Linked DNA regions of Homo sapiens: region 2 is linked to region 1. The links are contacts of gene promoters, found by promoter capture Hi-C in human tissues and cell types (Jung and others, 2019). All regions are on one chromosome and are shown on one strand. The core of a region is centred on a gene start or on the middle of the fragment in contact, and the rest is flanking DNA. Distances in the headings are between cores, read along the strand shown. Region 1 holds the start of PROKR2 (prokineticin receptor 2). Region 2 overlaps LOC107985411 (a long non-coding RNA gene).

Evidence for each region. The method cuts DNA at HindIII sites, captures the fragments that hold promoters and counts their contacts. A contact is called where the count stands out against the background at its distance.
Region 2: a contact is called between a fragment that was not itself captured here and the fragment with the promoter of PROKR2 in region 1, in 2 of the 25 tissues and cell types used here (H1 embryonic stem cells and IMR-90 fibroblasts).

What each region holds. Positions count from the first base shown.
Region 1 is chr20:5,314,697-5,320,209 of GRCh38, forward strand. PROKR2 (prokineticin receptor 2) reads right to left here and starts at 2,258. Exons shown (of 3, transcript NM_144773.4): 1 at 1,798-2,258. The HindIII fragment of the contact is 13,355 bases long and covers 1-5,513 here.
Region 2 is chr20:5,459,997-5,465,509 of GRCh38, forward strand. It overlaps LOC107985411 (a long non-coding RNA gene), which reads right to left. Exons shown (of 3, transcript XR_001754485.1): 2 at 4,791-4,933; 3 at 3,750-4,029. Among named protein-coding and RNA genes, the nearest start is that of LINC00658, 17 kb to the left of the region's middle. The HindIII fragment of the contact is 5,081 bases long and covers 735-5,513 here.

The sequences.
Region 1 (5,513 bases), core at 1,008-3,507:
TGGATCAGACTGTCCAGAACTCTCAAGAAGAATGTGCACCTTTGCCCTTTGCCCAGGGGCCAGGGCCTCTTTGTCTGCCCAGTCACATCCTCCAGCCCCCAACACATCAGCTCCCACAGGGGCTTCTGGAACATTTCCAAGGATGCTCCCATGAGCTGGCCAGGCTCCTACAGCTGTCACAACGTTGTGGCACCTGTTGGCCAGGGACAATGAAGCAGGAGGGCCAGGATGCTGCGGGGTCTTCTCTCCAAAGCAGGACACCACTCCTTCTGTACTGACCAAGCCATAGACTTGGAAATCACCAAGTTCACTTTCACATGGACAGACTGAGTCACCCTGGGCCAGTGATTTATGCTCTCTGAGTCCTAATCTTCCTGTAAACCAAATTCCTGCTGCCCAGTCCAGTGCCTGGTGCATAGTGGGGGCTAGACAGACATCTGTTGAGTGCATGACCAGGGCGCTGTAGGTGGAGGAGGTGGTGGTGGGGTGGGGGAGGGGAATTCCCCTGCTGCTCCCCGTTCTGTGGGAACCAGCTCCAGAAAGAAATCCTCTGCCGCCCTTCCCACCCTACTCCAACTTTGGATCTGCTCTCTGACCTCCTTCACTTGGCCCTAGTTCTCCACCCAGAGTCAACCCTGCCTGAAAGGCACCATGTCCTGTCACCAAGGTCTCAAAATAGGGAAAATAGTCTCTGAAGCCCTCAGCCCGCAGGAGATAGGGCACCCCAGGGTACAAGGCTTCACCGAGGGGCTGGAAAAAGAGCCCAGATCCCAACACCTATAGAAAGGGGCCCTGGCTGTCCAGCTGTGAGTGGCCTTCCCCTCGCCTCTCAGCACACCTGGAAACGACTCCACATGTGGGCGCCGCGGGATGCTGGGTAGCAAGGAGATGACCCAGCTGAACAATGCATTTGGTCCACTCCTGCGAGGGGAGGAGAACGCCGAGGGACAGGAACTGCGCGCCAGCAAAAGACACCCTAACCTGGGGTGCGCCCGCCAGCTGCTTTCCCAAGGTGAAAACCTCCAAGAGGCGAGATGCAAATCCCAGTGGCGTCCACACCCGGAGGTGTCTTCTCTCCAGGTCGCCCCTCCGTCTCATGCGACACCCCAATCCCCGCAGCCTCTGCTCAGCGTGGGACCAAGAATGGGGAGTCCTACCCCTCCTCGGCTTTCCAGCCCCCTAACCCAAGACAAGAGGGCGCGCGCCCGGGCTGGGACAGGTCCCAGCCGCATTTTCGTAGATTGCACTCCCCGCCCGGGAGCGACCCGTTCCAGCAGCCCCCTTCCCGCCCCATCAACGCGGCCGCACTGTCGGCGTCTAGAGGCGACATCCTGGCAAAGACAGGAATCAAGTCAGAAATTCAGGCTCTAGAAGCAAAGGCTGCGGTGCCTCCTGGCTGGAAGAAAACGGCGGGTGGGTGGAGGATGCGGTGCGCGGGAATTTCCCCACGGACGCTTGCTGTTTCCTGCTCACCTTTCAGGAAGGTGCCCCTCTACCTGCACCCTCCCCTGCAATTTGGAGCTCGTCCGCGAGCTCAGCTACCCGCTGGCTCCCTCTGCCCGCGCCCGCACACCACAGACTCCGCTTACCGTACCCTACCCGGTCCTAGAGGGCCCAGAGGGGATCTCCTGAAACCAACTCGCCTGCTTGGAGCCAGCCCCGACGCATATCTCGAGAGTGGCGGGAGGCAAAGCAGCCGGAATGCCCGAGAAAAAAGTGGGCGTCAGAGGCCCTTGTCCTAGCGACTCCCCCACCGCACCGACTGAGTCCCGGGACTGCAGGGATCTAAGCCCTTACCTGTCTCGGCGCCTCCTTTCTGTGCGCTCTGCTGCTCCGGAAGCCGGATCGAGAGTCACAGTGTGGTTGGGCGCAGGCGGGCCGCTCGGTTTTCACCTCGAGGACCCGGACTTGCACTTGCAGAGCCGCTGCGTGGGGGATGTCCCTCTTTTTTCCTCGCCCCGGCGGGCTCCTCCGGCGTGTCAGGGTCTCTGGGTTCCAGCTGGAGTTGGCGCTCCGGCCCCACAGCTCTTTCCAGCGTCTCGGACCTGTGCGCCCCGCCCCGCGCTGGACTCCGCCCCGGGGTCCCCGCCTGCCTCCTAGTCCAGGCCAAGGGTGGATGCCCAGCTCCCCCACCCCACCGCGTGCTCTCGGGCTGGTGCGTCCAGGGCGCGGGCACCGTAGCTCCGGCCGCGCTGACGCGAGTCCCCGGCAGCGGGGGCAGCCTCTCGCACGGATTTCAGCGCCTTCGCATCCCGTCTGAATCGGACCACACAGTAGCCGGGTTTCTACCGTGCGCTTGGGAACAGTGAGCACCGCCCTCTGCCGCCAGTCGTGGCACCGCACCCGGGTCGCGCGCGCAGGAGGGGAGAGTCCTGTCTTCCGGAGGTGCCCAGTGCCAGCGTCCGCGCCCACTAGAAGGTGACCCTTTCAAGGAAAGCCCGGCTCCGACGAGTGCGGTGTGGGCCTTTGGAGATGGCGGTGAAGGAGGAGGCCCCCAGGAGGAAGCTGGGGATGGGGACAGTTTGCTCTGCTCAAAGCCCCTGAAGTCCTCACCCAAACTTTGCGATGACCACCACTATCAGATTCCATGGCCGTATAAAGACAATCCCAGGAGTGCCTCAGCCCATCTGTCCGGAGAGTCTGGAGCCCTTCACTTTGCTTCTGACAGGTTCGAAATCCTCCCACGACCTTCCTGGTTAAACACAGGAACTGCCCATTCAAATGACTGGTGCCCAGGAAGCTCTGGGCATACAGGATTGAACCTGTGGCAGGACCCTGAAGGTCTAAAAAGGTGTTCCCCATCGTTAAACCCCAGCCAGCGGATTATTGGCAGGTGGGAACATGGACTCCACTTTGTCAGAGCTTCCCATTGTTTTCAAGAGAATCTGGAATTCGAGAACTTTAAAAATAGTCTTTGGGTTCGTTAAAGCAAAAATCTTGTTTTGGTCAAAGAGAACCTGTCTCAGACTGAACACAGTCCACAAGGCTGCCAATTAAAAATTTTTGGATAAATGAACTTCAAACTCCTTCAGGTTGTGACATTCTGTGATTCTGCTTTTCCCACCTTACCTGGAACCTGACCCCACTCTCCCTACCTCTTAGCATCTCTCCCGCATGATCAAAGGCAAGAGAGCCAGCTGTTTGCTTTCCTCCTGGGGAGGGGCTGCGATTGGGCAGGTGTTCTACATGCTCAGGGCAACTTCCAGATATGGAGGCAAAAAAGCTCTGTTGCTTGAGTGGGGGAGATGATGGGGTGGCCAGTTGTACGCCCTGGACACATTCTTTGCAATAGTGCATACTTACCAACTTCAGCTAGAGGCTTCTTCGCTCATGGACCATGCCTGCCCTATTCAATGGGGGCAAACAGACCCCTGGGACCATCTGCCCGCTGGTGCTTTCATGGAATCCTCTGAGATGAGTTAAGGCATGGTTGCTTCCACACAGATCTGGCGACCCACAGATGTCGCTGTAGTAACTCCAAGTCCTGACCACCCTCAGCAGAGTAGGAGCTTTTTCTGGGGATGGACATGTGGTCCCCAGGGAGACAGTGGGTGCTTAGAAAACAGTGCAACAGAGTGCTACGGGGAGTTGTCTTAGTTTAGGTTTCCCCCAAGGAGACTCCCAGACAAAGACCTGAGTGCAGGTAGTTTATTGGGAGCAGATCCCGGGAAGCACACACAGGGGGAGGGGAAGTGAGGCAGGGAAGGGAGAAGGGCCCATACACGATATGCTAACGAGCAGGGTGCCACTGCGGCTCACTCCAGTTGACCTGCAGACCGTGTAGAACATGCCTCATGGTTGTTCACAGCAGCGCGGGGAGGCTGGACATTCAGCCATCGATTCCTACCCCCTACTGATGGACAGATTCCCTGAGAGCCAGAATTTCCCTCACTTTTGAGTTGTGTCCCGGTGTGGTGCAGAAAGCCCAAGGCTGAAAAGAAGAGAGCTTCAGGCCTTGGATGGGAGGTGTCATGGTGCCTGGAACTGCATCTGCAGGTGAGCAGAGGAGATTCTGGGCAGGCCGTCACTCTCACATCTGCTACAGGAGGGCAGCAGAGGGGACATTGCCTTTGATGAGGCGGGCAGGAGCCATACTTCTGCTGGAGTTCATAGACTGAACTGGGTGTGAACCCAGAGAAACTGGGTGGGCTGAGTGGGATTTTGAGAGGGGCTGGAGACTTTGCATTATATACTTGGAGGCAACTTACATCCCCACTTGGGCTCACAAAGCTGGCAAGAACTGGGGAAATGGAGATGACTTCCCCTTCTAGTCAAAGAGATTTCTCTAATTGCAAGTCCAAAGTCTCTTCTTGTCTCTGAAAGAGTTTTCTGTCTGAAGTCTTTCTGGGTGAGGGAGGCTTAGCTGAACTACATGATAAAGTGCTGAGGGAGGGGAAAAGGGAAAGGGGAGGAAAGAAAATCCATGCAGGCAGGAGTTGCTGCAGAGCCTCAGGGGAGGCATTATCTACAAACAACTGGATGTGAGGAAAATGGATGAGGTAAGGATACTTTGATACAGAGCCAGAAGATTATATGTTTGAATCCACTCAAGAGACACGAATAATAAAAATTTAACAGGTATAATATTTCGACAACATTAAATCTGAATGTTTTTTGTTATTTCCCCCACGAATCCTATTCCATGGCAGCCACTCCACTAGTATAAATCCAGGAGATTGGAGTGGGTTAACACCGCCTCAGAATAACATCTCTCAAAGATACTCCCTAAAAGGGAGGGTTGAATTGTTGGGTCAGCCTGAGATTGCCAGATGGAACCACATTTAGGATCCCCTCTCCCACTGCACTACTCAGAATATGTGTCAGCGTGTGTATAAAGGGGACAGAGAACTCAGGGTGTGTCAGGTAAATTTGATTTTCAGGTAATTTCTTTTAAATTACTTTTACTATTTATTTATTTACTTATTTATTTTTTAGAGACAGGGTGTCAATCTGTCACCCAAGCTGGAGTGCAATAGAACAATCATAGCTCACTGCAGCCTCAAACTCTCAGGCTCAAGTGATCCTCCCACTTCAGGCTCCTGAGTAGCTGAGACTACAGTCTCGAGCCACTGCGCTTGACCCCAGATTTTTTTTTTATTTTTATTTTTACTTTTTGGGAACAGGGTCTCTCTCTGTCACCTAGGCTGGAGTGCCCTAGTGTGATTGTGGCTCACTGCATCCTGGACTTTCCAGACTCAAGCAGTCTTTCAGCTTTGGCCTCCCTAACAGTTGGAAATACAGGCGCCCAAAACCACGCCCAGCATTTTTTTTTTTAATTTTTAGAAAACAAAACAAAACAAAAACAAAAACAAGAAACGAAGTCTTGCCATGTTGCCCAGGCTGGTCTTGAACTCCTGGGCTCAAGCGATCTTCCTGCCTCAGCCTACCAAAATGCTGAGATTACAGGTGTGAATCACAGCACCTGGCCCCTAAATTACTTTTGACATTTGATTTATGTTTCTTGAAAGTGACTCCTTTCTAAGACAAAGCCACATGGATCTTCAGGTTTATAA
Region 2 (5,513 bases), core at 2,025-4,524, 150 kb after region 1:
GAATGGTACCAGCTCCTCTTTATACCTCTGGTAGAATTCGGCTGTGAATCCATCTGGTCCTGGGCTTTTTTTCATTGGTAGGCTACTAATTACTGCCTCAATTTCAGAACTTGTTATTGGTCTATTCAGGGACTCAACTTCTTGCTGGTTTAGTCTTGGGAGGGTGTATGTGTCCAGGAATTTATCCATTTCTTCTACATTTTCTAGTTTACTGGCTTAGAGGTGTTTATAGTATTCTCTGATGGTAGTTTGTATTTCTGTGGGATCAGTGGTGATATCCCCTTTATCATTTTTTATTGTGTCTATTTGATTTTCTCTCTTTTCTTCTTTACTAGTCTAGCTAGCGGTTCATCTATTTTGTTAATCTTCTCATAAAACCAGCTCCTGGATTGATTGATTTTTTGAAGGGTTTTTTGTGTCTCCATCTCCTTCAGTTCTGCTCTGATCTTAGTTTTTCTAGTCTTCTGCTAGCTTTTGAATTTGTTTGCTCTTGCTTCTCTAGTTCTTTTAATTGTGATGTTAGGGTATCGATTCTAGATCTTTCCAGCTTTCTGATGTGGGCATTTAGTGCTATAAATTTCCCTCTTAACACTGCTTTAGCTGTGTCCTAGAGATTCTGGTATGTTGTCTCTTTGTTCTCATTGGTTTCAAAGAACTTCTTTATTTCTGCCTTCATTTCATTATTTATCCAGTAGTCATTCAGGAGCAGTTGTTCAATTTCCATGTAGTAGTGTGGTTTTGAATGTGTTTCTTAATCCTGAGTTCTAATTTGATGCACTGTGGTCAGAGAGACTGTTATGATTTCTGTTCTTTTGCATTTGCTGAGGAGTGTTTTCCTTCCAATTATGTGGTCATTTTAGAATAAATGCTATGTGGCACTGAGAAGAATGTATATTCTGTTGATTTGGGGTGGAGAGTTCTGTAGATGTCTATTAGGTCCACTTGGTCCACAGCTGAGTTCAAGTCCTGAATATCCTTGTCAGTTTTCTGTCTTGTTGATCTGTCTAACATATTGGCAGTGGGATGTTAAAGTCTTCCACTATTATTGTGCGGAAGTCTAAGTCTCTTTGTAGGTCTCTGAAAACTTGTTTTATGAATCTGGTTGCATATATATTTAGGATAGTTAGCTCTTGTTGCATTGATCCCTTTACCATTATGTAATGCCCTTCTTTATCTTTTTTGATCGTTGTTGGTTTAAAGTCCATTTTATCAGAGACTAGGATTGCAACTCCTGCTTTTTTTAAATTTTCATTTGCTTGGTAAATATTCTCCATCCGTTTATTTTGAGCCTATGTGTGTCTTTGCATGTGAGTTGGGTCTCCTAAATACAGCACACCAATGGGTCTTGACTCTTTATCCAATTTTCCAGTCTGCGCCTTTTAATTGGGACATTTAGCCCATTTACATTTAAGGTTAATATTGTTATGTGTGAATTTGATCCTGTCATCATGACGCTAGCTGATTATTTTGCACATTCATTGATGCAGTTTCTTCATAGTGTCATTGGTCTTTATATTTTGGTGTGTTTCTGCAGTGGCTGGCACCAGTTTTTTCTTTCCATATTTAGTGCTTCCTTCAGGAGCTCTTGTAAGGCAGGCCTGGTGGTGACAAAATCCCTCAGCATTTGTTTGTCTGGAAAGGGTTTTAGTTCTCCTTTGCTTATAAAGCTTAGTTTGGCTGGATATGAAATTCTGGGTTGAAAATTCTTTTCTTTAAGAATGTTGAATATTGCCCCCCACTTTCTTCTGGCTTGTAGGGTTTCTGCCGAGAGATCCACTGTTAGTCTGATAGGCTTCCCTTTGTAGGTAACCTGACCTTTCTCTCTGGCTGCCCTTAACATTTTTTCCTTCATTTCAACCTTGGAGAATCTGACGATTATGTGTCTTGGGGTTGCTCTTCTCAAGGACCGTCCTAGTGATATTCTTTGTATTTCCTGAATTTGAATGTTGGCCTGTCTTGCTAGGTTGGGAAAGTTCTCCTGGATAATATCCTGAAGTGTGTCTTCCATTCTCCCTGTCACTTTCAGGAACTCCAATCAATCATAGGTTTGATCTTTTCACATAGTACTATATTTCTTGGAGGCTTTGTTTATTCCTTTTCGTTCCTTTTTCTCTAATCATGTCTTCATGCCTTATTTCAGTAAGTTGATCTTCAGTCTCTGATATCCTTTCTTCTGCTTGATCGATTCGGCTATTGATACTTGTGTATGCTTCACAAAGTTCTCATGCCATGTTTTTCAGCTCCATCAGGTCATTAATGTTCCTCTCTAAAGTGGTTATTCTACTTAGCAGTTCCTTTTACCAAGGTTCTTAGCTTCCTTGCATTGGTTAGGACATGATCCTTTAGCTCTGAGGAGTTTGTTATTACCCACCTTCTGAAGCCTGCTTCTGTCAATTCATCAATCTCATTCTCTGTCCAGTTTTGTGCCCTTGCTGGACAGGAGTTGCAATCATTTGAAGGACAAGAGGCATTCTGATTTTTGGAATTTTCAGCATTTTTGCACTGGTTTTTCCTCATCTTTCTAGATTTATCTACCTTTGATCTTTGAGACTGATGACCTTTTGATGGGGTTTTTGTGTGGGGGTCCTTTATGTTGATGTTGATGTTGTTGCTTTCTGTTTGTTAGTTTTTCTTCTAACAGTCAGGCCCCTCTTCTGCAGGTCTGCTGCAGTTTGCTAGAGGTCCACTCCAGACCCTGTTTGCCTGGGTATCACCAGTGGAGGCTGCAGAACAGCAAAGATAGCTGCCTGCTCCTTCCTCTGGAAGCTTTGTCCCACAGCCTGATGCCGGCTGTAGCTCTTCTGTATGAGGTGTCTGTCAACCCCTGTTGGGAGGTCTCTCTCAGTCAGTAGGCACGGGGATCAGGGACCCACTTGAGGAGGCAGTCTGTCCCCTAGCAGAGCTGGTGCACTATGCTGGGAGAATCCCTCTCATCAGGATCAGCTGCTCTCCTCAGAGCTGGCAGGCAGGAACGATTAAATCTGCTGAAGCTGCACCCACAGCCACCCGTTCCCTCAGGTGCTCTGTCCTAGGGAGATGGAGGTTTTGTCTGTAAGCCCCTGACTGGGGCTGTTACCTTTCCCCTGAGATGCCCTACCTAGTGAGGAGGAATCTAGAGAAGCAGTCTGGCCACAGCTGCTTTGCTGCAACCAGCCCAGACTTCCCAGCCTCCTTAGCACTGTCAGGGGAAAACCGCCTACTAAAGCCTCAGTGATGGCAGATGCCCCTCCCCACAGCAAGCTCAGTTGTCCCAGGTCGACCTCAGACTGCTGTGCTGGGAGCGAGAATTTCAAGCCAGTGGTTCTTAGCCTGCTGGGCTCCGTGGGAGTGGGACCCACTGAGCGAGACCACATGGCTCCCTGGCTTCAGCCCCCTTTCCAGAGCAGTGGACAGTTCTGTCTTGCTGGGGTTCCAGATGCCACTGGGATAGGAAAAACAAACTCCTGCAGCTAGCTTGGCGTCTGCCCAAACAGCCACTTGTGTTTTCTGCTTGAAATCCCAGGCCCTGTTGGTGTAGGCACACGAAGGAATCTCCTGATCTGCAGATTATACAAACCATGGGAAAAGTGTAGTAACCTGTCCCAGGTAGCACAGTCCCTCATGGCTTCCCTTGGCTTGAGGAGGGAGGTCCCCCAGCTCCTTGCACTTCCTGGGCAAAGTGACACCCCACCCTGCTTCTGCTCGCCTTCTGTGGGTTGGACCCACTGCCTAACCAGTCCCAGTGAGATGAACTGGGTACCTCAGTTGGAAATGCAGAAATCACCTGCCTTCTGCGTTGGTCTTTCTGGGAGCTGCAGACTGGAGCTGTTCCTATTGGGCCATCTTGGCCCCCTTCAGAAACCTGTATTTAAGAATACTTGTCAGAGTCTTTTCCATGAATTTCCATATAGAAGCAAATTTTGGTCTACAGCTGATTATGAACCTCTTTTTGAGAAGAATCAAAAAGTAAAACAATAATTGTCTGTGGATGGCAACAGTCTTAGATCAGCCATGGTTAAAGACACAATTGGCAAGAAAATTTGATTACTTCTGTAACAGAAAAAAATTTAACATAATAATTATAATTATTACTAATAACATACATTAAGACATCAGAATTATATGTATCTCATACAATTTTGGAAGACATATTAATAACACCCATAAAATATAATCCAAGGAAAGGCAAACACTGTTTCATATTTGACAAGGCTTTCTCTAGGATTTTAACATACCAAATAAACCCAATACGTCTCTCTTGGACTTTCAGGGACATTAATATCTAAAAGGTTAGTTTAAGGTCAAAAAGACTAAATTTAGAACTTGAAGCTTTGATTTTGAAAAGTTTGTCTAATATCAAAGGTTCAAAACACTTGATATCATAAAATAGGATGACAGATTACTGTAAACTAAGTCATTCACTTAGCCAAAGTGATAATTCACAAATTTACACTTCCCATTGCCCACCCCTCATGCCTTCCACCCTGAGATTTAACAATAGTGATGGTGGCAGGAGGCAGACAGGTACCTAGGTGGGAAGGGGTGGGTCCCTGGTGAGGCCCAACCTTCAAACCAGGGATGGCCTGAAGCCTGGAGGCCAAGCTGCCAGTTCCAGGTGGAGTCCCTGACTGGGAGTAAGAATTTCCTTGATGCCTTTCAGCCAGTTGATGGTGACTGGTTTTTTGGACCTACCCTTGAACCAATCAGCATGCACTTCCTCCCACTCATGGACCAATCAGCATGCACTTCCTCCATTCTGCACCTATAATAACCCCTAGACTCAGCAGGACTCAGACACACATTGGGATTACCTTCCTGCAGGTAGGAGCTACCCACTTTGGGTCTCCTCTCTGCTGAGAGCTGTTCTGTTGCTCAATAAAGCTCTTCTCCATCCTCACCCTCCAGTTGCCTGAGTAACCTCATTCTTCCTGGACTTGCGATAACAACTCAGGACCTGCGAACAGAGTGCACAAAAAGGGCTGTAACACTTTCCTGGCCAGCTCACTGAGCTGCAGGTCGTGATATGCTTCCCTGTTCACCAAACTGTGGGAGTGAAGAGTGGTGACCCTTCTGGGGACGCAGACCTCAGAATTCCCAAGCCAGAGCTGTAACACTATAGCCCTCCCGCCCTCCACCAGTGCTGGGCGGCTGCCAGATGTGACAGGAAGCAGTGGCGGGGCAGGCCAGCCCAGGAGCTGTGGGCTGGAGTTGGGGTGATGGGATTGAACAAGCCGTAACACAAATGGGCTGAAACACATTGCCTCCCACCGCTGTTTGCCATGCTGTCGCGCTGCGGGTGGTGGGAATGAGAGAGCTGTAACATGCACCCCCAACCCGTAGAGGATCTGCAGTTGCTGGCATCTCCAGGTTTTCAGGAGCCACCACATTCCCTTCATCCAGATGCTGGCAACTGCAGGAGAAGCCGCTTGTAGTATGCCTGCTCCAGCCGCAGCCTTGCATGGAGCCAGTGCCTATGCCGGTGCCTGGAGCCGTCCGCCCTGCTGCGGCAGTTGGCGTGCCTGGCTGTGTGCAGG